Linked DNA regions of Homo sapiens: all the other regions are linked to region 3. Evidence: promoter capture Hi-C in 16 types of primary human blood cells and fetal thymus (Javierre and others, 2016). All regions are on one chromosome and are shown on one strand. Each heading gives the region's core, a stretch centred on a gene start or on the middle of the fragment in contact. The rest is flanking DNA. Distances are from core to core; before and after follow the strand shown.

Region 1 (3,205 bases), core at 473-2,972, 710 kb before region 3:
TGGTGTACACCTCTAGTTCCAGCTACTCAGGAGGCTGAAGTGGGAAAGCAGCTTGAGCCTAGGAGTTGGAGGCTGTGTGAGCTATGATCGTGTCACTGCACTCCAGCCTGGGTGACAGAGTGAGACTCTGTCTATAAAAAAATATATATTCCAACTAATAAAAGCTAAGAATGTGACTGAAATTAATGCATTCTAGTTTAAAAAATAAAGAGATTTTAAAGACGGCATCTTAAAGTCAAGTAGTATTATGTCTACGTCCTATAGACCATTACTCTGTTGTAGCACAGAACAGACCAAATAGTATTCTATTCTTCAGAAGTTTGCACCTCTAGCTTTATAGCATAAACACAGAGTCAACACTGATAAATCCTGAAATACAACCTTGACCTACTAACCTGGCACCACTCCATTAGTGGCAATGGCACTCATGGAGATAGCAGTCAACATTGTCTGCAGAGAAAAGGAAAGGAGAGGATTGTTACTGTGTAAAGATGACATTTCTATACTACTTCTCCATTTGTGTTCCAAGAGCACTTGGCAAACATTTAACTCTACCTACTTTTATGGACAGTCATACCTAATGGTATGGAAATAAGATGATATGGTCCAATTCATTGCGCTAGTCATACCACTAATATCTGGAGGATTCTGTCAAAATGCTCCCACATCAGTAGGTCAGGTGCTATTAAGAACTGCTAATCTCACTCTGGATTTCCTAGTTACACAGGAAATAGAGCATAGTATACTCAAAAGGAAGAACTAGAGAAATAACTCAGAAAATAGGTTAGAACCTGACTAAAGACTAAATACAATATCAAGAACAATGTTCAGTAAGAAAGGGAATCACTGAAGGCTTCTGAGCACACAGGAACCGCATTTTAAAAATATTACCCGGTAGCACAGTATAGAATGCGCTGCAGATAGGAGTAGCTGGAGGCCGAGTGATTGGTTAGCAGGCTACCATAGTAGTTCAGTGAGAGGTAAAAACTATAGTGGTGGTAGTGTGAATAAAAAGGGCTGAGTGTAAAAGATTTCAGAGAATAGATTAGCGTTGGTAGCTGATTAGATGTGAAAAGCAATTAAGAAGCCAAACACAGCCTTGAGGTTTTAAGCCTGAGACTAAAAAAAGGTGGTACCATGAACATTTTAAGTTATTAAAAATATGAACTGTGCCTGCTTAACCTGTTTTGCTCATCAGCTGGGGATAATATACAGGTAGGGTATAAAGGTCATAGTGATAAAAAAGGACAGTAGAAAACTATAAAATTCATAGGTGTGTCTGGGATACATAATGAGAAGTTTAAATTAAAGGAAGATAAAAATGTTCTCAGTAGAGAGAAGACCTGGAAAGAACATCTAAATTTCTAAGGAAGGGATAAGGGAAGAAACTTCAAAACCAAATAAAAAAACCAAATACCCCTCACATCCGCAATAACCTGTCTTGTTTCTCAATATATACTGGAGTGATACATCACATTTTCTAACACATTTTCTGTCACAACTTTGGTGCTATCAAGCTCAAATAGTTTGGATTCTGAATTCTCTGAAGACAGGAACTTTATCTTCCATTTTCAGTTGAAGTCTTGCTTTGTAATTTCTAGTACATCATATAATAGATAGCAAGCAGTGACTAACAGGCACTGAATAACTGAAAATCCTTTAGATTTTAATATCAGAATAATTTCTTCTGTTGAGATCATGAGTCCTTCCCTAAGTATTCTTTGTTTTATTCCCAAAGAGGTCATGTGCATCTGCTCTTGAGAACTTGCAACGTTCAGGTGATCTCTAGGAGCCAGTGCAGTACTTACACAGCAGCAGCAGATAAGGACAATTGCAAAAGCCTGAAGAACTCCAGCTGTGCCCACCACCCATGTAAGGCGTAAAAAAAGGATCACTCCAAAAATATTTTGTAGACATGGGAGGTAGACACCCATGAAGGTACCCATTTGGGGGGTCTAGAAAGAAAGACATTGATAAAAAATCACACAGTTATCCTAAAGAGAGGTTTTTATTCTTTTATGTAATAACTTGCTCCCTAACTACCATATTAACCTCCAAGCAGAAATCATAAGTTTAATCAATACCTTCAAAAGGGCACATATAAAATCTCCATCTTTCAAGTGTTTATCACCATACTTTTATTATTCCTAAAGCTATATATTTTAACTTTACAAAGGTTCCTGCATGTGTTTATTATACATAGGCATTTGGCCACAAATAAACTTTTATGTGCACCCACAACAATTTAAAATTTTGTTTTTCAAAGCTGTTGGCTTTTTTCATTTAAAAACAATAAGGACTTGATGGAATTTCTTCAGAATTTGGCATAAATTCTTCACAGTAGTTAGTAAATAAATTAGATGGCAAAATGAAGATCTGAGGGCCGTTTTATCCCTTTTTGAAAGGGCTGAACAACCAGAATGGTAAACTGAATGTCTTATATTTTCATTTTGAGACAAACTGATGTTTGGTGTTTAAAAAACCCAACAACTTCACAACAGACAGATGGCATCAGCAGATGGGTATGGACACTCTTCTCTTGAAAAGCTATTCCCTCTCCCTGAATGCTCTTTTCCCACATAGCTCACTCCCTCCCATCAGCTAGATCTCTCCTCAAATATCACCTTGTCAGAAAGGCTTTCCCTGTCCAACCTATGTAAGTAGCAACGCCCTCCACTCTGGATCCCTTGCCAATTTCAGTCTCTCTACTCTGCTTAATTTTTTGCTCGGGAATTTATCAACACTTAATATGTTATATACTTTGGCAGTTAAAACAGCTTAAGGACTGTATCCCCACATCAGAATTTAGACTGCATCATATGTTTTCTTTGTGCTATGACGCTGGTGCCCAGAACAGTTCCAGGCACCTCTCAAGCATTTAATAAATAGCTGCTGAACACAGAATGGTGCCTTAGGTATTTCCTTCTTTCTTATATACAGGGCTCTTTCTATGTATTCCTTGTTATTCTGAGGCCTCACCTTGGTGGGCTTCTTTTTCCCTTCAGTGATGTTTTCTGCCTCTTCATGTTCCTTTGCTCCTTGAGTCAGATTAGTGTAATTGGCCATGCGGTTGAGGAGGGAAGACACCTTCGGTCTGGTGTCCATTTCTTCCTATAAAGCCAGTGACATGGAAGAAATGAGCTACAAAGAACACTGAACATAAGTATCAAAATAATCTTGCTACCAGAAAACTTCAAATTAAATG
Region 2 (3,320 bases), core at 139-2,638, 750 kb before region 3:
TGCAGTGGCACGATCTAGGCTCACTGCAGCCTTGACCTCCTGGGCTCCAGTGATCCTCCCACCTAAGCCTCCCAAGTAGCTGGGACTATAGACACAAGCCACTTTGCCAGCCTGATTTTTTATTTTTTGTAGAGACAGGGTTTCACCATATTGCCCAGGCTGGTCTCAAACTCCTGGCCTCAAGCGATCTGCCCACCTTAGCCTTCCAAAGCACAAGGATTACAAGGGTGAACCACCACACCAGGCCTGGAAAATCTTACACTAGTTTTCTTTTCCTTGCGAAACAAAATTTGTGCAAAAACTTTAAAACTTTAATTCCAACTTGAAGCTCCATTTCCATAAATAACCTATTATTTCTAATGATCTTCTAATATTTTAAAAATAACAAGCAAAGCTTTATAGGGGAGACCTTCATCTTTCTCCTGAAGAATTCTAGCATGCATATAGAGCAGCTGCCCTCACTGTATTCTGTGGAACACTGATTCTATTGGATGTTAACGAATGTATTAAGGAAAAAAAAACAACAAAAAACTGGTTCCTTACTCAAGTAGATTGGGAAACAAAATTAAAGGAGATTCTTTACCAAACCATTTCTTGTTGTTTTCATATGTTATACTAACGGCACTAAGACTCTCTTGAGTGTGTGTGCAGAATATAATATGTAGAATTTCTCAAATTTATCTAATCTTGGAACCATCCTCAGCCTAGTCCTGATGTGTTCATTTTTTGGAACGGAGTTTCACAAATAATACTATGAGGATTCCTAGGATAAAGAAATAAATGATCCAGAGTACTCCCACTGAGGCCAAAGCAACTTTTTATTTTTTGTTTATTTATTTTTTTTGCGACAGAGCCTTGCTCTGTCCCCCAGGCTGGAGTACAGTGGCACAATCTTGGCTCACTGCAACCTCCACCTCCTGTGTTCAAGAAATTCTCTGCCTCAGCCTCCTGAGTAGCTGGGATTATAGATGACTGCCATCACGCCCAGCTAATTTTTTGTACTTTTAGTAGGGACGGGGTTTCACCATCTTGGCCAGGCTGGTCTTGAACTCCTGACCTCGTGATCCACCTGCCTTGGCCTCCCAAAGTGCTGGGATTACAGGCGTGAGCCACAGCACCCAGCCCAAAGCAACTTTAATTTAGGTTATAGTTTACACATTTTTATAGCAAGTAGGGGAGTATTTAAGTAGAAAGAATATATGATTCCAATGACTAACTTAATGTTTTCAAAAGTGTTCATTTAAAACTTATTAAAGCAGGGCCAGGTGTGGGCTCATGCCTGTAATCCCAGCACTTTGGGAGGCCAAGGCGGGAGGACTGCTTAAGCTCAGGAGTTTGAGACAAGCCTGGGCAACACAGTGAGACCCTGTCTCAAAAAAATAGTAAGTAAAAAAAAATTATTAAAATGTGGCTAGGAGCAGTGGCTCACGTCTGTAATCCCAGCACTTTGGGAGGCTGAGGCAGGCAGATCACGAGGTCAGGAGTTCGAGATCAGCCTGGCCAATGTGGTGACACCCTGTCTCCACTGAAAATACAAAAATTAGCCAGGCGTAGTGGCACACATCTGTAGTCTCAGCTACTTGGGAGGCTGAGGCAGAAGAATTGCTTGAACCTGGGAGGCGGAGGTTGCAGTGAGCCGAGATTGCGCCATTGCACTCCAGCCTGGCAACAGAGCAAGACTCCATCTCAAAAAAAAAAAAAAAAAAAAAAGTATTAAAATGTAATAAGAAGGCCAGGTGTAGTGGCTTATGCCTGTAATCATCACTTTGCGTGGGCGAGGTGGGTGGATCACCTGAGGTCAGGAGTTTGAGACTAGCCTGGCCAACACAGTGAAACCCCATTTCTACTAAAAATACAAAAATGAACAGGGCGTGGTGGCGGGCACCTGTAATCCCAGCTACTCAGGAGGCTGAGACAGGAAAATTGCTTGAACCTGGGAGGCAGAGGATGCAGTGAGCCAAGATCGTGCCACTGCACTTCAGCCTCGGTGACAGAGTGAGACTCTGTCTCAAAAAAAAAAAAGAAAAGTGTAATAAGATTATCTTGAAAATTAGACAAAATTGCGTGAAAATTATTGCCCCAATAGAATGTATATCCATTTTTATGTTTTATTTTGCACAAGTGTAGTTATAGTACATTCACATCTTGGTGTTTGTTTACTTTCAATTTAATTTACTCACATTCGCTAAACATTTATTCAGTACTTTCTATGTTCTAGGCAACAGGCTCAAAGATAATATATAGCTTCTGACCTGGGGGGATTTAGGGTTGCCTATAGAGGGGTAGAAATAAGTGCTCAGGGGACTTTAACAAACAAAATGCAATGTGGTAAGTGCTATTATGCAGCATATAATGCAACAAAGAAGAATGCCCAATAGGGTCAGAAGCTTGAGATAAATATAAGGTTCATGAGACAGAACGTGGTAAAGACAAAAAGTAGAAAGGAGCAGAAACACAATCTATAGTTAGGTCTTCCTACAATCAGATAGATACACATTTTAGGATGGATTGGAGAGGCAAAAGACTTCCATTTCTGCCTTGTTTAAGTAGTCTGCTATGAACACATATTTTTAAAATCAGAAAATAAAGTGGAGGTGGCAATCTTCAGCCTCTCTTACATCATCATCATCTTCAAGAGTCCCAACTTTTTTGTTGGCCAAGGAAGCCTTTTTCAACCTTACCTCCCACAGCATCTCCTTCCCCCTAACTCCAGCCATATCGAATAACTTGGAGTCAAAGAAATACAAATTAAAAAATAATACAGTACCATTTCAAACTATTAAAAAAATTATAGACTGTGAAATGTAAATGGTGCCATTTTTCCTAGTGGACATTTTAATTTTTTTTGTTGTTGTTTGCAGAGGCAAGGTCTCACTATGTTGCCTAGGCTGGTCTTGAACTTCTGAGCTAAAGCAATCCTCCTGCCTCAGCCTCCCAAAGTTCTGGGATGACAGGTGTGAGCCACCACGCCTGGCTCCTGTGGGCATTTAAAATGAAAATTCTTTAAAAATGTGCATACTCTTTGATCCAGCAACTCCAATTTCACTTCTAGGACTATAACTTTAGGAAATAAGAAAAGACATACAGATATGTTCACAGCAACACTGGTTATAAAAGGAAGGAAAACAGGAAACAATTTAAATGTCCAATAATAGGCTATATTATGAAAAAGGTATACCATACAAAACCCAATCACTTTAAAGAATGACATACATTATTTAATGACACGTCATTAAAAACACATCAATGGTGTTATTTGGTAATGATGTGATACATCATTAAAAACACCACATAACCTAGCACTTTGGGAGGCCGAGGCA
Region 3 (3,138 bases), core at 494-2,993:
GACAGGGTTTCTCCATGTTGGTCAGGCTGGTCTCGAACTCCCGACCTCAGGTGATCGACCTGCCACGGCCTCCCAAAGTGCTGGGATTACAGGCATGAGCCATCGCGCCCGGCTGAAGATTTTAAGGACAGCCAGCCTTAGTGTAGTCCCTGTAGTCCTAGCTACAAGGGAGGCTGAGGTGGAAGGCTCACTGGAGCCCAGCCAACATAGTGAGACCCTATCTTGAAAGAAGAAAAGGAAGGAAAGGAAGGAAGAGATTTTTTTTTTTTTTTGAGACGGAGTCTCGCACTGTTGCCCAGGCTGGAGTGCAGTGGCGCGATCTCGGCTCACTGCAAGCTCCGCCTCCCGGGTTCACGCCATTCTCCTGCCTCAGCCTCCCGAGTAGCTGGGACCAAAGGCACCTGCCACCATGCCCGGCTAATTTTTTTTCTTTTTATTTTTAGTAGAGACGGGGTTTCACCGTGTTAGCCAGGATGGTCTCGATCTCCTGACCTCGTGATCCGCCCGCCTCGGCCTCCCAAAGTGCTGGGATTACAGGCGTGAGCCCCTGCGCCCGGCCGGAAGGCAGAAATTTTAAGAAGGCAAGTGATATGATGAGATTTGCACTTGTATGAAATCACTCGGAAAGCAACATGAAGAATGGGCTAGAGCAGAGCAAGAGGAAGGACAATATAACAGATTACGATACCTTGGTCCAGGCAGAAAACAATGGCAACCAAGCTTAGGGTGACAGAGATGTAGAACACCAGATAGATTCAAAAGATATTTAGAATGTAGAAATGTAGGGACTAAGGGAAAGGGAGGATTCAAAATCACTCCCTAGGCTTCTGCCCTGGCAAATCTGTTGAGACAAGGAATAAAGAATAAAGAAGCAGGTGGGCATGATAACTTCTACATTGAACTACTTACACTCTTATGCAATTCACAAATAAATAATAAGAATGAGGAATGATGCTGACAACCACAGGACTGTGGTTCCCTATCCAAAGCCAACTGTGGCTCACAATGCAAGATAGTAAACAGATTCTAAATGAACGCTCTCAAACTACAGAATTACTCTGTTTTTAGATAGGTCTATTTGGAGGTGTCTTGTCAGTTTCTCATCGCTGCTCAAAAACTCAGGACACTCTAAGGACCAGGAAAAAGCCTACTCCTACTTGAAGAGGCAGTCCAGCATCACTCTGCTGCGAAGCCTACTTGCCAGTCTCAGATAGACTGGGGTGTTCCCTCCTCTCTGAATCCATTGCTCCTGAGACAAACTCCAACACAGCAAAACTCATACAGTAGTTTTATTTTCATGCGTCTGTCTTCCTTGGGCCATGAACTCCCCAGGGCAGGGCAGCTTCTTTCACCACGGTATGCCCAGCACCTAGCATAGTGGCCGGCACGGAGCTGATACTCAGTAAAAAGACGTGTGTGAATCAATTAACAAACGAATGCCTCCTCCGGACTCCTAAATCCTGAAAAAAAACCCCACCACCAGGCCTCGGGGCCACGACGTCCATACCCACTCACACACACCAGACTCGCCCGAGCTCACCTGGGTCACGAACTCCGCATTGATTTGGGACACCGTAGGGGCCACGATCTTCTTGGGCTGCGCAGGGGCTGCCATGGCAGCACTCTTCCCTCCACTCCAGTGGAAACTAAAGGACCGCTCTGGGCAGCGGCAACCCTGGTCCACTTCCCTTAAGTTACTGCCGGGGCGCTTAACTCCGCGCCGCACAAACGCTCCGGGCCGGATATCCTCAGCCTTCAGAGTCCCGTAGGGAACCCGTACAACAGCCCAAGCGTTCCTCGGGAAGCGGAATGGCGTGTAGCCGGAAGTTCATGCAGGCGTTGGGGCTGAGCTAGCGAGCCAAGAGCTTTGACCTCCTCTGTACACGCCCTCTAGCGGGCGGCAGAGAGAAGACACCTCGCTGGCGGGATTAGGAGGGCAAGGGAGGGACCCGGTGGATGGTGTTGGGTGGGGTTTCTCGTGGTTAGTGAAGAGTGCCGTGTGCGGTGAATGGGGATTTAGTTTTTTTTCAACCCTAAAGAAAAAACAAAACAAAACAAAAAAAACAGCCTGGGAATATGGGCTGGGTTTTAACTGCCCTTAACAGTGTTTTAGTTTAGTTTTGTTTTTTTTGAGACGGAGTTTCGCTCTTGTTGCCCAGGCTGCAATGCAATGGTGCAATCTCGGCTCACAGCAACCTCTGCCTCCCGGGTTCAAGCGATTCTCCTGCCTCAGCCTCCCGTGTTGTTGGGATTACAGGCATGCGCCACCATGCACAGCTAATTTTTGTATTTTTAGTAGACACAGGGTTTCTCCGTATTGGTCAGGCTGGTCTCGAACTCACCAACTTTAGGTAATCCGCCTGCCTCAGGGTCCCAAAGTGCAGGGATTACAGGCCTTAACAGTTTTATGGAGGTAAAAATTGACATACAATAACCCAGCCAGGCGCGGTAGTCACGCCTGTAATCCCAGCGTTTTGGGAGGCTGAAGCTGGCCGATTGCCTGAGGTCAGGAGTTTGAGACCAGCCTGGCTAACATGGTGAAAACCCATCTCTACTAAAAAACAAAATTTAGCCGGGCGTGGTGGCGCGCGCCTGTAGTTCCAGCTACTCGGATTCAGGAGAATAATCACTTGAAGCTGGGAGGCGGAGGTTGCAGTGAGCCGAGATTGCGCCATTGCACTCCAGCTTGGTGACAGAGCGAGACTAGCCTCAAAAAATAAAAATAAAATAATAATAAAAATAATTCACATACAATAACCCACACATATTTAGGTTGTAAAATTTGATGCGTTTTGACATGAACATACATTTGTGAAACTATTGCCAAAATCATAATGAGCATATCAAAGCCTCTAAAAGTTTCCTCGTGAACTTTTGCTATCTGTGCCTTTCACTGTTCCCACCCACTTTTCAGGCAACCACTGATCTGCTTTCTGTCACTATAGTTTGCTTTTCATGGAATTTTATATAAATGAAATAATACAGTGCATGCCTTCTTTCACTCAACGAAATGATTTTGAGATGGATTCATGTTGTTGCATGTATCAGTAGTTCATTCCTTTTTTATTGCTTAACATTCGTTCCATTTTACTGATATACCACAGTTTGATAAACTATTCATCTGCTGATAGACATTTG
Region 4 (2,989 bases), core at 8-2,507, 620 kb before region 3:
CACTATGTTGGCCAGGCTGGTCTCGAACTCCTGACCTCATGATCCGCCCGCCTCAGCCTCCCAAAGTGCTGGGGTTACAGGCGTGAGCCACTGCGCCTGGCCTCATTCTTTACTTTTTAAAAATTTTCTTGAGGCAGGATCTCACTCTGTTGCCCAGGCTGGAGTGCAGTGGCACTGTCATGGCTCACTGCAGCCTTCACCTCTTGAGCTCAAGCGATCCTCCCACCTCAGCCCCACAATAGCTGTGACTAGACGCGCGTCATCACTCTTGGCTAATTTTTTTGGTATCTTTTGTAGAGATGGGTTTTTGCCGTGTTACCCAGGTTGGTCTCAAACTCTTGGGCTCAAGCAATCTGCCCACCTCAGCCTCCCAAAGTGTTGGGTTTATAGGCATGAGCCACCCCACCTGGCCATTCATTTTCTTAAGCTTCCTAAGTTATGACTATAGGGGAAGGAACTATGTGCTGAGCTCCTGAAGTTTCCCTGGAAATACGATTAAGCCACCTGTGACCACCCTCCTGGGTGACATGACTTAGGCAGACTTTGCCCACCTGAGAGCACTTCCTTTCTTGGCCATGCTTGGCTGTCGTCTGGATTTCTGATGGGTCTGGTCTCCTTCTCAGCATTGCCTATGCCTTTCTCACCCTCTGCAGGTTCATGGAGTTTGAGGCTGAGGAGATGCAGATTCAGAACACACAGCTGATGAATGGGTCTCAGGGCCTGTCTCCTGCAACCCCTTTGAAACTTGATCCTCTAGGGCCCCTGGCCTCTGAGGTTTGCCAGCAGCCAGGTGAGGCTACCCAATTTTGACAGGAGCCGTGGGCCAAAGGCTCAAAGGGATGCATACAGAAGCCAGTCACAGATTAGAGAAGGCATAGCCCAGGCTCTGCCACTTTCCCTCTGGAGAGTGGCATTTGATATTCCAAACAGACCACCCCATAGGAGGCTGGGTTCTCAGGTTCCTTTTGCCCTGAACTAGGTATTGATCTTGGTGAAGTAAACTGACTACTCTCACCGAGACTCTAAATTCAGCACATAATACCTCATCTGCCTAAGAAATGGGGACTGGATTAGGGGGTTTCTTGGAATCTCAGGGATTCCAAAATTCCTCATACAGTGATTCTTAGACCCTCTAGGTCCTAAATCTCCCATGGCTGGCGCTTTTTCAGGTTGGCCCAATCCAGCCTGGAACCATTTCAATGTACCCAGATTGCTGAGCTTACAGAGCTGGGAGGCAGAAGCTGTGGTTTCTGTGCTACTTCCCATTCTCCTGTCCATCTCTTACCTTAGTGTACATTCCGAAGGAGGCAGAATCTGTGGTTTCTGTGCTACTTCCCATTCTCCTGTCCATCTCTTCCCTTAGTGTACATTCCGAAGAAGGCAGCCTCCAAGACACGGGCCCCCCGCCGGCGTCAGCGTAAAGCCCAGAGACCTCCTGCTCCTGAGGCACCCAAGGAGATCCCACCAGAAGCTGTGAAGGAGTATGTTGACATCATGGAATGGCTGGTGGGGACTCACTTGGCCACTGGGGAGTCAGATGGAAAACAAGAGGAAGAAGGGCAGCAGCAGGAGGAGGAAGGGATGTATCCAGATCCAGGTCTCCTGAGCTACATCAATGAGCTGTGTTCTCAGAAGGTCTTTGTCTCCAAGGTGAGCTGGGCCTGCACATCTTGTTTCTAGCAGATCCTTGGGGTGGGTACTCCCGGGAACTAATGATCTGGGGTTTGTCCAATGCAGTAGGACTTAGGTTTTATTCTATAACTGAGTAATGTGTGTGCATGCATCATCATGAGAATGTGTGTAGCCGGTGGTGGTCAGTTTACAATACCGGAGGGGTAAGAGGGGAGAGTTGGGGAGCTCTTAGTTTCTTCTGTAAAGCCCCTTGTTTCACAGGTTACCTGCTTACAGACTTACATCGCTTTTCCTTCTGTTATCCAGGTGGAGGCTGTCATTCACCCTCAATTTCTGGCAGATCTGCTGTCCCCAGAAAAACAGAGAGATCCCTTGGCCTTAATTGAGGAGCTAGAGCAAGAAGAAGGACTCACTCTTGCCCAGGTAAAACTGGGGTATAGGAAATATGAGAACGAGAAGCTTGCAAGATTTTATCTAACCCTACACTGTCGTGGGTGATATGGCTCTAGAGATGAACAGCTTCAGGATTGGGCTTCAGGTGCAGAACGAGTAGGTAGAGGGCTATGGAAACACAGGAAATGAGAATGTAAGGGCTCAAAGCATGGGAATAAGGCACAAGAAGGTGGGAAAGAGCTGCAGTATCTGTCTTTGCTACCATCGCTTAAACTACTTGCTTGCCTTCCTTGCCCTGCCCAAATACCGTCTTGTGCCACCCACTCAGCCACCTCTTTCACAACCACGTATAGAACTGACTATTTGTTCATTTCTTTCAGCTGGTCCAGAAGCGACTCATGGCCTTGGAAGAGGAGGAAGATGCAGAGGCGCCTCCAAGTTTCAGTGGCGCTCAGTTGGACTCAAGTCCTTCTGGTTCTGTTGAGGATGAAGATGGGGATGGGCGGCTTCGGCCCTCACCTGGGCTTCAGGGGGCTGGGGGCGCCGCTTGCCTTGGAAAGGTTTCTTCTTCAGGAAAACGGGCAAGAGAAGTGCATGGTGGGCAGGAGCAAGCCCTAGATAGCCCCAGAGGGATGCACAGGGATGGGAACACTCTGCCATCCCCCAGCAGCTGGGACCTGCAGCCAGAACTTGCAGCTCCACAGGGAACTCCGGGACCCTTGGGTGTGGAGAGGAGAGGGTCTGGGAAGGTTATAAACCAGGTATCTCTACATCAGGATGGCCATCTAGGAGGCGCTGGGCCTCCTGGGCACTGCCTGGTGGCTGATAGGACTTCAGAGGCTCTGCCCCTTTGTTGGCAGGGAGGCTTCCAGCCTGAGAGCACTCCCAGTTTGGATGCTGGACTTGCAGAGCTGGCTCCTCTGCAAGGACAAGGGTTAGAAAAGCAAGTCCTGGGATTGCAGAA
Region 5 (2,953 bases), core at 155-2,654, 730 kb before region 3:
TCAAACTCAGCTTTCTCACCATCTCCACCACTTCTACCTCCGCCTCAATGCGTAAGTGATATAGGAAGGTGGCTAGGTCCTTCTTCATTTGGATACTGTTGTCTTCTAATTGGGCTACTGTGAAGATCCGTATGCTGCACTTTCGCCACACCTGAGAGAGTGACATACACATGTGAAAAATTAGAGCAAGGAGGCAAAAAAGGTTATTTCCTAAGACATTAGACATTGTGGTCTAGAAGAACCTTGCTATATGTAGTATAAGGCTATTTGTTCCTAGCTTCCTACTTGCTATGTTATTGTATTAGGGCAAAAGATTGACTAAACACCACATTTAATACAGTTTTAAGGAGTCCTTAATTTCATAACAAGAAAACACTGGCAAAAGAAAAGATGGTTCACGATACGTTAAGAGGGTACTTTATTCAGACAGTGTATCAATGACAACATGCAGACTATATATTTACTATTTTAAATCTCATTTAATTAGTCTTACCACGGAATGAGCGCATATATGCGTGCAATACACACATATACATATACCTTAAGTTTTCAGTATTTTTTAAAAAAAGATGTGTTCACTTGTTGTTTTCCCCTAGGGCTCATATGGAACTTTATTAATTGGCTGAATTTCACTTGGAGATAAGTAGGTATCAAATACAAAGACAATGATTTCTCTTGTTTGAAAGTGGGATCATGGGAAAGCCTAGAATAACTTCCAACTCTTCTGATTCTAAACCCCAACACTATTATAATCAGAGGAAGAATTTGTCTGTCCTGTGAACCAGGACAGAAGGGAGAAAGACTTTTGTAAAAAAAAAGTTGTATAAAATACCTTGTGCTGTTTCAGTAGGAATGGTAGTAGCATAAGCATCCCCCCATCATGCACAATCCACCACACATCAATGTTGCCCTCAGAAAATTGCTCCACATTGCTGGGAAAGAAGGAGATGTTTTTAGCCACCAGCAGTGCAAGATGGGCAGCAGTTGTCACTCGAACTGTGCCTAGGGAGAAAAAAGAATAAGCAGAGAAGAATCCTTAGGCTTGCCTTGCTTCCTAGCATGTCAGGAAAGCAAGGAAATGCTCTTTTCACACTTCTTTGAGCAAGGGGTCCTATTTACTTAGTAGGTTATTTCTCATTACGTATCAAAAACCATTGTGAAAAATCTGAATAGCTAACAGACTGAGAACCACAGTTTATGTTACTAGGTATATTCCCATTACTACATTTCTAAGGGGGGATATGTGAATTTGAGAGATTATGATGCTGAAGAACAATTCTTGCAATTCCTGTGAGAACATCAATATGGAAAATCACAAATGAAAACACGGCAATTTTGGAGATAATTCCTAGCACAAGACTTGACAGAAATAATTCATGAACATAATGTGAAGCTGAAGGGGGTAGGTAGAATCTGGGTATTACTACCAATAGTTTTTCAGGTTGCCTTATAAGACTATGCTTCAGCAATGGCATAGTCTCTACTTTAGGAGGCTGGGGGTGACAGAGATTTAACTATATACCCTCGACTTGGGCCTTTAGGTTTGTATGAGAAATGGTTAGTACCAATAAAAGTCTTCCAAGCGCGGGCATCTTCGCTTTGACGCCAGCCATTAGGCCAGCCCATCACCACCGTGTTGTGCTTCATGCCCCCAAGGCCACATGACTGGATGAGGTGGGAAATGCCCTCTCTCAGCTTGGCGGCCACCACCAGCTGGCAGAATCCTTTTACCTTCTCTGCCTCCATTAGGTGCTTTATGGTCTGAAAGAGACACAGGACCGCAACACTGAACTGGTTCACTCTGGACATTTTAACCCATTGTTCCTTCTCCATATTATATCCCCCACCTTTTTCCAAAGTCTTCATAATACTATATCATCTACAGAAAAGTCCAAAAAGTTAAAATTATCCCAAAGGAATTTCATGATCTTTTGTCTTTTTGCTTACTACGTATTTTTGCCTCTGTAGCTGGTTGTCTACATGTAGTTTCTCTGCTTTTTCCTCTGTTCTGCTTTTGTTCCTTTGCACCATACCAAAAAACTGGGAACAGGGATCTCTACAAAGTGAATATTCAACATTCTTTCTCAGTTGACCAGGGTGATTCACTATTGTGAACACGATCTCCTTCCTGCCTCAGCCCCAGTCATGCCCTGACTCATCTTACCAGAAACTCAGTATGATGATTCAGTTTCACTTTAGAATTTTCTCAGGTATGTTTTCTTTTTCGCCTCTCCCATTCCCATATGCTTTTTGACATTTTAATGGTGATTATTCATGACACTTGTATTTGCATTACTCTTCCTTTATTTAGTCAAACCAATTTGGAGATATCATCTCATTTACTCTTACTCCACCCTGGGAATAATGGTATGGAAAATGGAATGATTTTTGCAAAGGCACAGATTAAATCAGTGATGCGGCTAAGAACTAGGCTCTCCTGATTTTCAATCCTGTGTACCTTTTATTAATTTTTACCATCATTCTGGAGTAATGTTTCTTCAGCATTTCTAGTGTTTAGGATTTCAAAGGATTCCAAAATGAAATCCAGTAAAACTTTTTTTTTTAAATACTTTAAGTTTTAGGGTACATGTGCACAACGTGCAGGTTTGTTACATATGTATACATGTGCCATGTTGGTGTGCTGCACCCATTAACTCGTCATTTACATTAGGTATATCTCCTAATGCTATCCTTCCCCCCTCCCCCCACAGTAAAACTTTTGAAATGCCATTGAACACAATGGCATTTCAAAAACAATAGGATTAGTTCTATCATATATAATAAGTATTAGAGTGAAAACAACTTCCTTGTTAAAGTAGAACTTTAATGTTCAATACAGCTAACCAGAAGTGGCAAAGGAATCTTGCTCATGATACCACGTAGATTAGTAAAGAGGAAGAAAATTTGGTCATTACTCCTTGTTGTCACAAGATTGAGAGGAACCCTCTCCATA
Region 6 (3,352 bases), core at 105-2,604, 640 kb before region 3:
AAAACAAAAAAAACAAAACTATCAAGAGGATGCTTCTTTCAGACAAGCTAAGAAGGTACCAAATCAACATATTTTAGCTATTAGAATGCTGAGGTAAAACATGGATAGTATTCAATAATTATATAATATAGAAGACTTATTTAAGAGAAAGGTAATAGTCCATCCTGGCCAACATAGTGAAACCCTATCTCCACTAAAAATACAAAAATTAGCTGGGTGTAGTGGCACGTGCCTGTAGTCCCAGCTACTGGGGAGGCTGAGGCAGAAGAATCACTTGAACCCAGGAGGCGGAGGTTGCAATGAGTGGAGACCGCACCATTGCACTCCAGCCTGGGCGACAGAGTGAGACTCTGTCTCAAAAAATAATAATAACAATAATAATAATAAGTAATAGTCACCTATGATTAGCAAAACAATATAATTCACTTATTTTGGTGTGTGACTAAAAATGATAATTTTGTTTTTTGTTAGGTTTTGTTTGTCAGGGTAGAGGTATTTATTTATTTGAGACAGAGTCTCGCTCTGTCATCCAGGCTGCAGTGCAACTTCCGCCTCCCAGGTTCTCATGCCTCAGCCACCTGAGTAGCTGAGATTATAAGCATGCACCGCAACACCTGGCTAAGTTTTCATATTTTTAGTAGAGACGGGGTTTCACCATGTTGGCCAGGCTGGTCTCGAACGCCTGGCCTCAAGTGATCCGCCCGCCTTGGCCTCCCAAAGTGCTGAGATTACAGGCGTGAGCCACCGCGCCCAGCCTAGAGGCATTTTTTGAAAAGCTCTCTAGATCATTCATTATGCAGCCAGATGAAGTAGCACTACTCTCGTACATACATTAATATGCCTTTATCAGAGTACGTTTTTAATTTGTCTCTTGTTTTTAAGTCTACAAGATCTTCAACTCAATGTATATTTATGGTGTACAAGTTATATGTGATATCACATATTACACTAGGTGTAAATGATTTTGTATCCTTGTCCTCAAGAACCCTACAGCATAGTTGAGAAAGATAATATGTAAATAAAAACAAAATATAGTGATATAGGTATTATAGCAATATAGGGACAAAAAGAGCCTGGTTTATTATATCTGGATATGGGGTTCAATCAGAAAAGGTTTCAGAGAGGACATGACTCCTTAAAGAAAGGACTTATCTAAATTACTTTTATGTCTCTAACATCTCTCACAAAAACTTGGTTAACAGCCAGTCTCAAAGTTGTTACACTTAGACCTCAACTCTCCACTTCAGAAACCCACTCCAAGGCTACACACTAGATCACATTACATGAGAAATGCTCTACCTCTGAAATTGCTCACTCCAACAACATTCAACCGTCTGACCACAGTCTTTAATCTTTCTACACTTTTCACCACACTTTACCTTATCAAGTCCTCCAGTCTCTTAAGTGTCTCTATTTTATCTTAGTTGATCATTTTCCTTTGCCGTATTTTTGCATATTTCTATTGTTGGACTTATACAGCATTATAATTTATATACAAATGTGTTTGCTTTGTCTATTAGATCATAACTTTCCTTAGAACAGATTAACGGATGCTTTTTCTCTGTCTTTAACACCCAACATCTTTAACAGCCAGCCAGTGCCTTATCCTTAACTCATTGCTCAGAGTAACAAATATTTGGTGAAGGAATAAGTAAAGTGCTCTAGTCATTTTCACCATTATACCATGAGATCTGCAAAGGTAGAAACTATATGTTACCTGTATATTTCCTACAATTAATACCAGACTGCCTCATACATACCAGCGTCTCAGGGAGTATCTGTTGACTTATAAAAGGTTGAAATGTATTAGGGACTGCAGGCAGGGTGTATGGTTCACACCTGTAATCCCTGAGCTTTAGGAGGCCGAGGCAGGAGGATCATTTGAGGTCAGGAGTTTGAGACCAGCCTGGCCAACATGGTGAAACCCCATCTCTCCTAAAACACAAAATTTAGCCGGGTGTGGTTGCAGATGCCTGTAATCCCAGCTACTTGGGAGGCTGAGGCTGGAGAATCACTTGGACCAGGGAGGTGGAGGTTGCAGTGAGCCGAGATAGCGCCACTGCACTCCAGCCTGGGCGACAGCGCGAGACTTTGCCTCAAAAAAAAAAAAAGAAAAAGAAAAAAAGTATTAGGTCCTGCAAATGACATATAAAAATATGTTTTATAGCCACATGGTTATAAAGCACATGTAAAAAATGTTCATCATAGCAGAGGCAAAATGATGCAAGAAAGAGCACTAGATAAAAGTCAGGAGGCCTGAACTTCAGTCTTGGCTTTGCCACTTTGTGATCTACAAATAACCATCTCTATAAGCCTTAGTTTCCTCATTTATTTTGTTATTTTTTTAGTCTAATCTATTGGGGTTTTAAGTCTCCTCACTTATTAAAATGTGGTTTGATCAGAATAAGATTCTAGATCATTAGCTCTAACATGTGGTGCTTTTCAAAAAAATTACTATAAAAGTGATACACTATAAATACTTAAAAGTTGTATATGCCCTTAATTGTTTTGGTAAAAGAAAATTCCACTCTATTTTTTTTTCTTTTTCTTTTTTTTTTTTTTTGAGACAGAGTCTCGCTCTGTCACCCAGGCTGGAGTGCAGCGGCGTGATCTCAGCTCACTGCAACCTCCGCCTCCTGGATTCAAGCAATTCTCCTGTCAAGGCCTCCCGAGCAGCTGGGATTACAGGCGCACGCCGTCACGCCTGGCTAATTTTTTGTATTTTTAGTAGAGACAGGGTTTCACCGTGTTCCCCAGGCTGGTCTCGGACTCCTGAGCTCAGGGAATCCACCCGCCTCGGCCTCCCAAAGTGCTAGGATTACAGGCGTGAGCCACCGTGCCTGGCTCCACTCTATTTTTGTAACTCACTTTCCAGAGGCATCCACTCTCAACAGTTTCTTTTGTATCTTTAAGGCGTTCTTCATACATAAGCTAATACACTGCTAAGATTCTTGATTTTACCAACTGGACAGTCCTATAAATTCAAATGGAGCCTTGCCAAAATGAAAGAAAAATTACTTTGATAGCAGAAAGAAAACTACTCAGAAAGCCAACAGCAGAAAAAATTAAAATATACTGAAATAAGTATTTAAAACTTCATGTAGGGCTGGGCGCTGTGGCTCACGCCTGTAATCCCAGCACTTTGGGAGGCCAAGGTGGGTGTATCTCCTGAGGTCAGGAGTTTGAGACCAGGTTGACTAACATGATGAAACCCCATCTCTACTAAATACAAAAAATTAGCCAGGTGTGGTGGTGCATGCCTGTAATCTCAGCTACTTGGGAGGCTGAGGCAAAAGAATCACTGGAACCCGGGAGACAGAGATTGCAGTGAGTGGAGATTGCGCCCTTGTAC
Region 7 (3,244 bases), core at 280-2,779, 570 kb after region 3:
TGCAAAAACATGGAGCCTGGAAAGAAGTAAAAGAGAGAATAAAAAGATCTTACTAGAAAAGTCCTGTGAGAAGCAGTAATACAAAAGTCACAAAAGTGCTAATCTTTTTTCCCTCTTACATTTTAGCAGTTAATATCTGTAGTTTCATAGGTATAACACAATAGCATTAAAAAGCAAATTGGTGAATATATTTCTTTTTTCAAAAGCTATAATTGGGGATATTTCATTGGAGAAAAGAATGAAAAAAGTAGTCAATATGAGGTCTGTGAATTATATGTGGATGCCCTTGTTACTACAGACAAATGAAAAGTGGGAATGCATTGCTTTATGCTTCTCTCAAGTCTCACATTTCTGGCTTACATCTAAAATAGGTAAACTGTATCCTTTTAATAATAAAATTAATATATCATTTATCAATATGTGTCTTACTTCTCAAGCTCCTTGAGGCCTGAGACTGTATCTTATCTACCTCTATGCTGCCTACAGTACTTGGGAATGTGGTGGGGTAAAATGGTAGTGTACTTTGAAGTAAGAAGGTTCAAGTCTTAACTCTACAAGTTTGTGCTAGTTTACTTCAGACAAACTCTAAGCTTCAGGATCCCTGTCTATTAAGATTAATAGTGCATCTCTATAGAAGTTGGTTATGAGAATTAAAAAGTAAGTGAAAACACTTAATGCTAAGTTCTAGGTGGAAACTAGCATCTAATGGGTGCTTAATATTTATTGGTTCTTTTTTTTTCATCTTTGTACGGTATACCTGTACAATGTAATTATGAAGTTGGAATTTCATTCATTTAGGCAACTTCCCAATAAAGGCATGTACTTACCTTGGTTTTCAGCTGGTCTTAGATTTGCTAAAGCAACGATCTGATGCCCAGCAGCAATGCACTGCATCATATTATAGCAGCTGTCCTTCCCACCACTAAACAATAAATCAAGAGAGGGACAAATATCATGCTACTGACCATTATTCAACATAAAATCACTAGATATCAAAACAGAACATATCATTTACTTGACTCTTCAGAATATATTACAATGCAAAAAAAACCCATTAATTTCTAAATCATAAACAAACTGAGCAACCGAATCTGAATGTCTAGGGCTGCTACTCACAGGAGCTTAAGAAACTATATATATATAAGAATATTCTAAACAAAATATGGTAACTTTTTGCTTTGTGATAGCAAATATATTTGAAGTGATTTGCAAATAGAAAATGATTTCAATTTACATCCCAGCTAAACATTTATTATATAATTATATATGAAATATATATATTCTACCTAAGGAATATATATAATAATATATATTATTCCACTTAAGGAATATATATAATATATATTATTCCACTTAAGGAATATATATATATATATATATAAAATAATTTCATAGAAATTATTGGGAAAAAAAAAACTATTCTCTATGAGAAAGTAAAAAAAAAAACAAATTCTGCTCCACCATAAGAAATCTAACAAATGGCTACCATCAGCAATTAAAGGATCAAATTAAAGATTTGAGTACCTAGCTAATGACAAAGTTTGACACACTTGGTGGGTTCAAATTCTGCAGAGATAAAAAACAAGATGCTGACTTACACTGATGACGTGAAACATCAGCACTATCAGCACTTCAGCCATCTCTACACATACATATAGTACACACATACACATAATATATATATATATATATATATATATATATATATATATATATATGATGGCAGCAGAACTAGGCTTGAGCTATAAATGTAGTAACACATTGAAAGGAACTTCTAAATTCTGGTTCTAAATCTACCTAAGGCAGACGCATATCACTTAGTAAAGACAAGCAGTAGCTCATCTATAATATGGCTGAATGGCAATCTATATGCTATTGTAATTTAATATTCTCCTAATTCCCACTATCATTTATCATTGCCTCTCTCCCTTTTACATTTCTTTTTCCTCCTGTTTCCCTTCTTTCCAATATTTGCTTAAGGCCTGCAAATCCCCAGGCAATGTTTAGACCTCTTCATAGCTCAAGAAACTGAGCACCTCAGAAACTGGCCTTGTTGCCTTTTATCTTAGTTTTCAACATTTCTGCCTCTTCCACCCTCCCATCAATAACAACTCTCATTCCAAAACTTCTCAAGTGGAAGGAGAGCACAAGGGCCAAAGTGAAGTTTTAAAAAGTCCATTCTTCCTCTCTTCAGGTTCGGTATCCCCATAAGTAGGTCTTCCACAACTTCCCATATCGAACCTTACTGCTCTGATTCCCCAGGATAAAAAGATATGACTAATTGTTTCAGATATTAAAGACTGAAGGGTGTGCATCCAGAATCAGAACTGAGTCTGACAATTTATTTTGAAATATGCCAACATTTCAAATATGGTTTTAAGCAGTATTTACCAAACTGTGTTCTGTGGAACACTGGTGTCCAACAAAATACTAACCAATTACTCTAACAAAAGGTTTTGAATATCAGACAAGCTTGGGAAATGCAGAGTACCTTACTGTCCTCTTAGAACTCCATTAAGTACACATGTATGTTAGGTGAGAGGTCTCACAGCTCTATTTTAGTTTCCAACTCTGGGATACTAAGCTAAGTTATTCAATGTGCTTAGGTTTGCATACTTCATTGCAAATTAATGAATGGTCTGCCTGGATAATCCTCAAAATAACATTCAACTATAAAATTCAAAGACTCATTTATTTATTAGAAAAATAATGTTCTATGAGAGCATATGGACACAGGGAGGGGCACATCACACACTGGGGCCTGTGGGGGTTTGGGGGTTAGGGGAGGGATAACATTAGGAGAAATACCTAATGTAGGTGATGGGTTGATGGGTGCAGCAAACCACCGTGGCACATGTATACCTATGTAAAAAAACTGCACGTTCTGCACATGTAACCCAGAACTTAAAGTATAATAAAAAAAAAATTTAAAAAAGGAAAATAATCTTCTTAGAAAGATATGTAAGAATCCCAGTTTCACTTATTCACTTATAATACATAATTATATATAATGCATATATATAGAATACATAGGCATCTGTATCATAAGCATACAGGTAAATGCTTACGTATTCATACTTACAGCATATGTCCTTACAGCTCTTACGCTTCAGCAAGAATTTTCCAACATTGCTTTTTTAGCAAACTTTTTTTATTATAAAGCAACATATGCACATTACAGGTTATTTAGTGTAACTGACTCTACCAATCTTCTCTCCTCCCCTCCAATACTTCTAAGTCTTTG

What was found. Contacts are between HindIII fragments. The CHiCAGO score rates a contact against its expected background, and 5 or more counts as called.
Region 1: a fragment that was not itself captured here is called in contact with the fragment with the promoter of AQR in region 3 in 1 of 17 cell types (non-activated CD4 T cells); the score reaches 5.8 in non-activated CD4 T cells.
Region 2: a fragment that was not itself captured here is called in contact with the fragment with the promoter of AQR in region 3 in 12 of 17 cell types (total CD8 T cells, non-activated CD4 T cells, total B cells and 9 more); the score reaches 15.8 in total CD8 T cells.
Region 4: a fragment that was not itself captured here is called in contact with the fragment with the promoter of AQR in region 3 in 1 of 17 cell types (naive B cells); the score reaches 6.2 in naive B cells.
Region 5: a contact is called between a fragment that was not itself captured here and the fragment with the promoter of AQR in region 3, in 9 of 17 cell types (total B cells, total CD8 T cells, naive CD4 T cells and 6 more). The highest score is 9.1, in total B cells.
Region 6: a fragment that was not itself captured here is called in contact with the fragment with the promoter of AQR in region 3 in 7 of 17 cell types (total CD4 T cells, total CD8 T cells, naive CD8 T cells and 4 more); the score reaches 7.6 in total CD4 T cells.
Region 7: a contact is called between a fragment that was not itself captured here and the fragment with the promoter of AQR in region 3, in 7 of 17 cell types (naive CD8 T cells, total CD8 T cells, total B cells and 4 more). The highest score is 8.7, in naive CD8 T cells.

What each region holds. Positions count from the first base shown.
Region 1 is chr15:34,255,834-34,259,038 of GRCh38, forward strand. SLC12A6 (solute carrier family 12 member 6) reads right to left here. Exons shown (of 26, transcript NM_001365088.1): 5 at 2,980-3,111; 6 at 1,809-1,955; 7 at 396-450. Among named protein-coding and RNA genes, the nearest start is that of EMC4, 32 kb to the left of the region's middle. RefSeq lists a silencer at 1,681-1,881. The HindIII fragment of the contact is 4,736 bases long and covers 1-3,205 here.
Region 2 is chr15:34,220,211-34,223,530 of GRCh38, forward strand. No RefSeq gene overlaps it. Among named protein-coding and RNA genes, the nearest start is that of EMC4, 3.1 kb to the right of the region's middle. The HindIII fragment of the contact is 1,993 bases long and covers 393-2,385 here.
Region 3 is chr15:34,967,999-34,971,136 of GRCh38, forward strand. It overlaps AQR (aquarius intron-binding spliceosomal factor), which reads right to left and starts at 1,744. Exons shown (of 35, transcript NM_014691.3): 1 at 1,541-1,744. The coding sequence starts at 1,615. RefSeq lists enhancers at 1-369, 1,538-1,687, 1,738-1,847. The HindIII fragment of the contact is 5,969 bases long and covers 719-3,138 here.
Region 4 is chr15:34,353,083-34,356,071 of GRCh38, forward strand. NUTM1 (NUT midline carcinoma family member 1) reads left to right here. Exons shown (of 8, transcript NM_001284292.2): 5 at 654-790; 6 at 1,364-1,650; 7 at 1,939-2,055; 8 at 2,406-2,989. Among named protein-coding and RNA genes, the nearest start is that of NUTM1, 11 kb to the left of the region's middle. RefSeq lists an enhancer at 689-1,888. The HindIII fragment of the contact is 1,664 bases long and covers 426-2,089 here.
Region 5 is chr15:34,237,400-34,240,352 of GRCh38, forward strand. SLC12A6 (solute carrier family 12 member 6) reads right to left here. Exons shown (of 26, transcript NM_001365088.1): 20 at 1,566-1,761; 21 at 833-1,002; 22 at 20-151. Among named protein-coding and RNA genes, the nearest start is that of EMC4, 14 kb to the left of the region's middle. RefSeq lists an enhancer at 1,407-2,606. The HindIII fragment of the contact is 3,743 bases long and covers 1-2,953 here.
Region 6 is chr15:34,330,685-34,334,036 of GRCh38, forward strand. All of the region lies in intron 2 of SLC12A6 (solute carrier family 12 member 6), which reads right to left. Among named protein-coding and RNA genes, the nearest start is that of SLC12A6, 5.4 kb to the right of the region's middle. The HindIII fragment of the contact is 5,371 bases long and covers 1-3,352 here.
Region 7 is chr15:35,541,586-35,544,829 of GRCh38, forward strand. DPH6 (diphthamine biosynthesis 6) reads right to left here. Exons shown (of 9, transcript NM_080650.4): 2 at 828-922. Among named protein-coding and RNA genes, the nearest start is that of DPH6, 3.0 kb to the right of the region's middle. The HindIII fragment of the contact is 1,882 bases long and covers 589-2,470 here.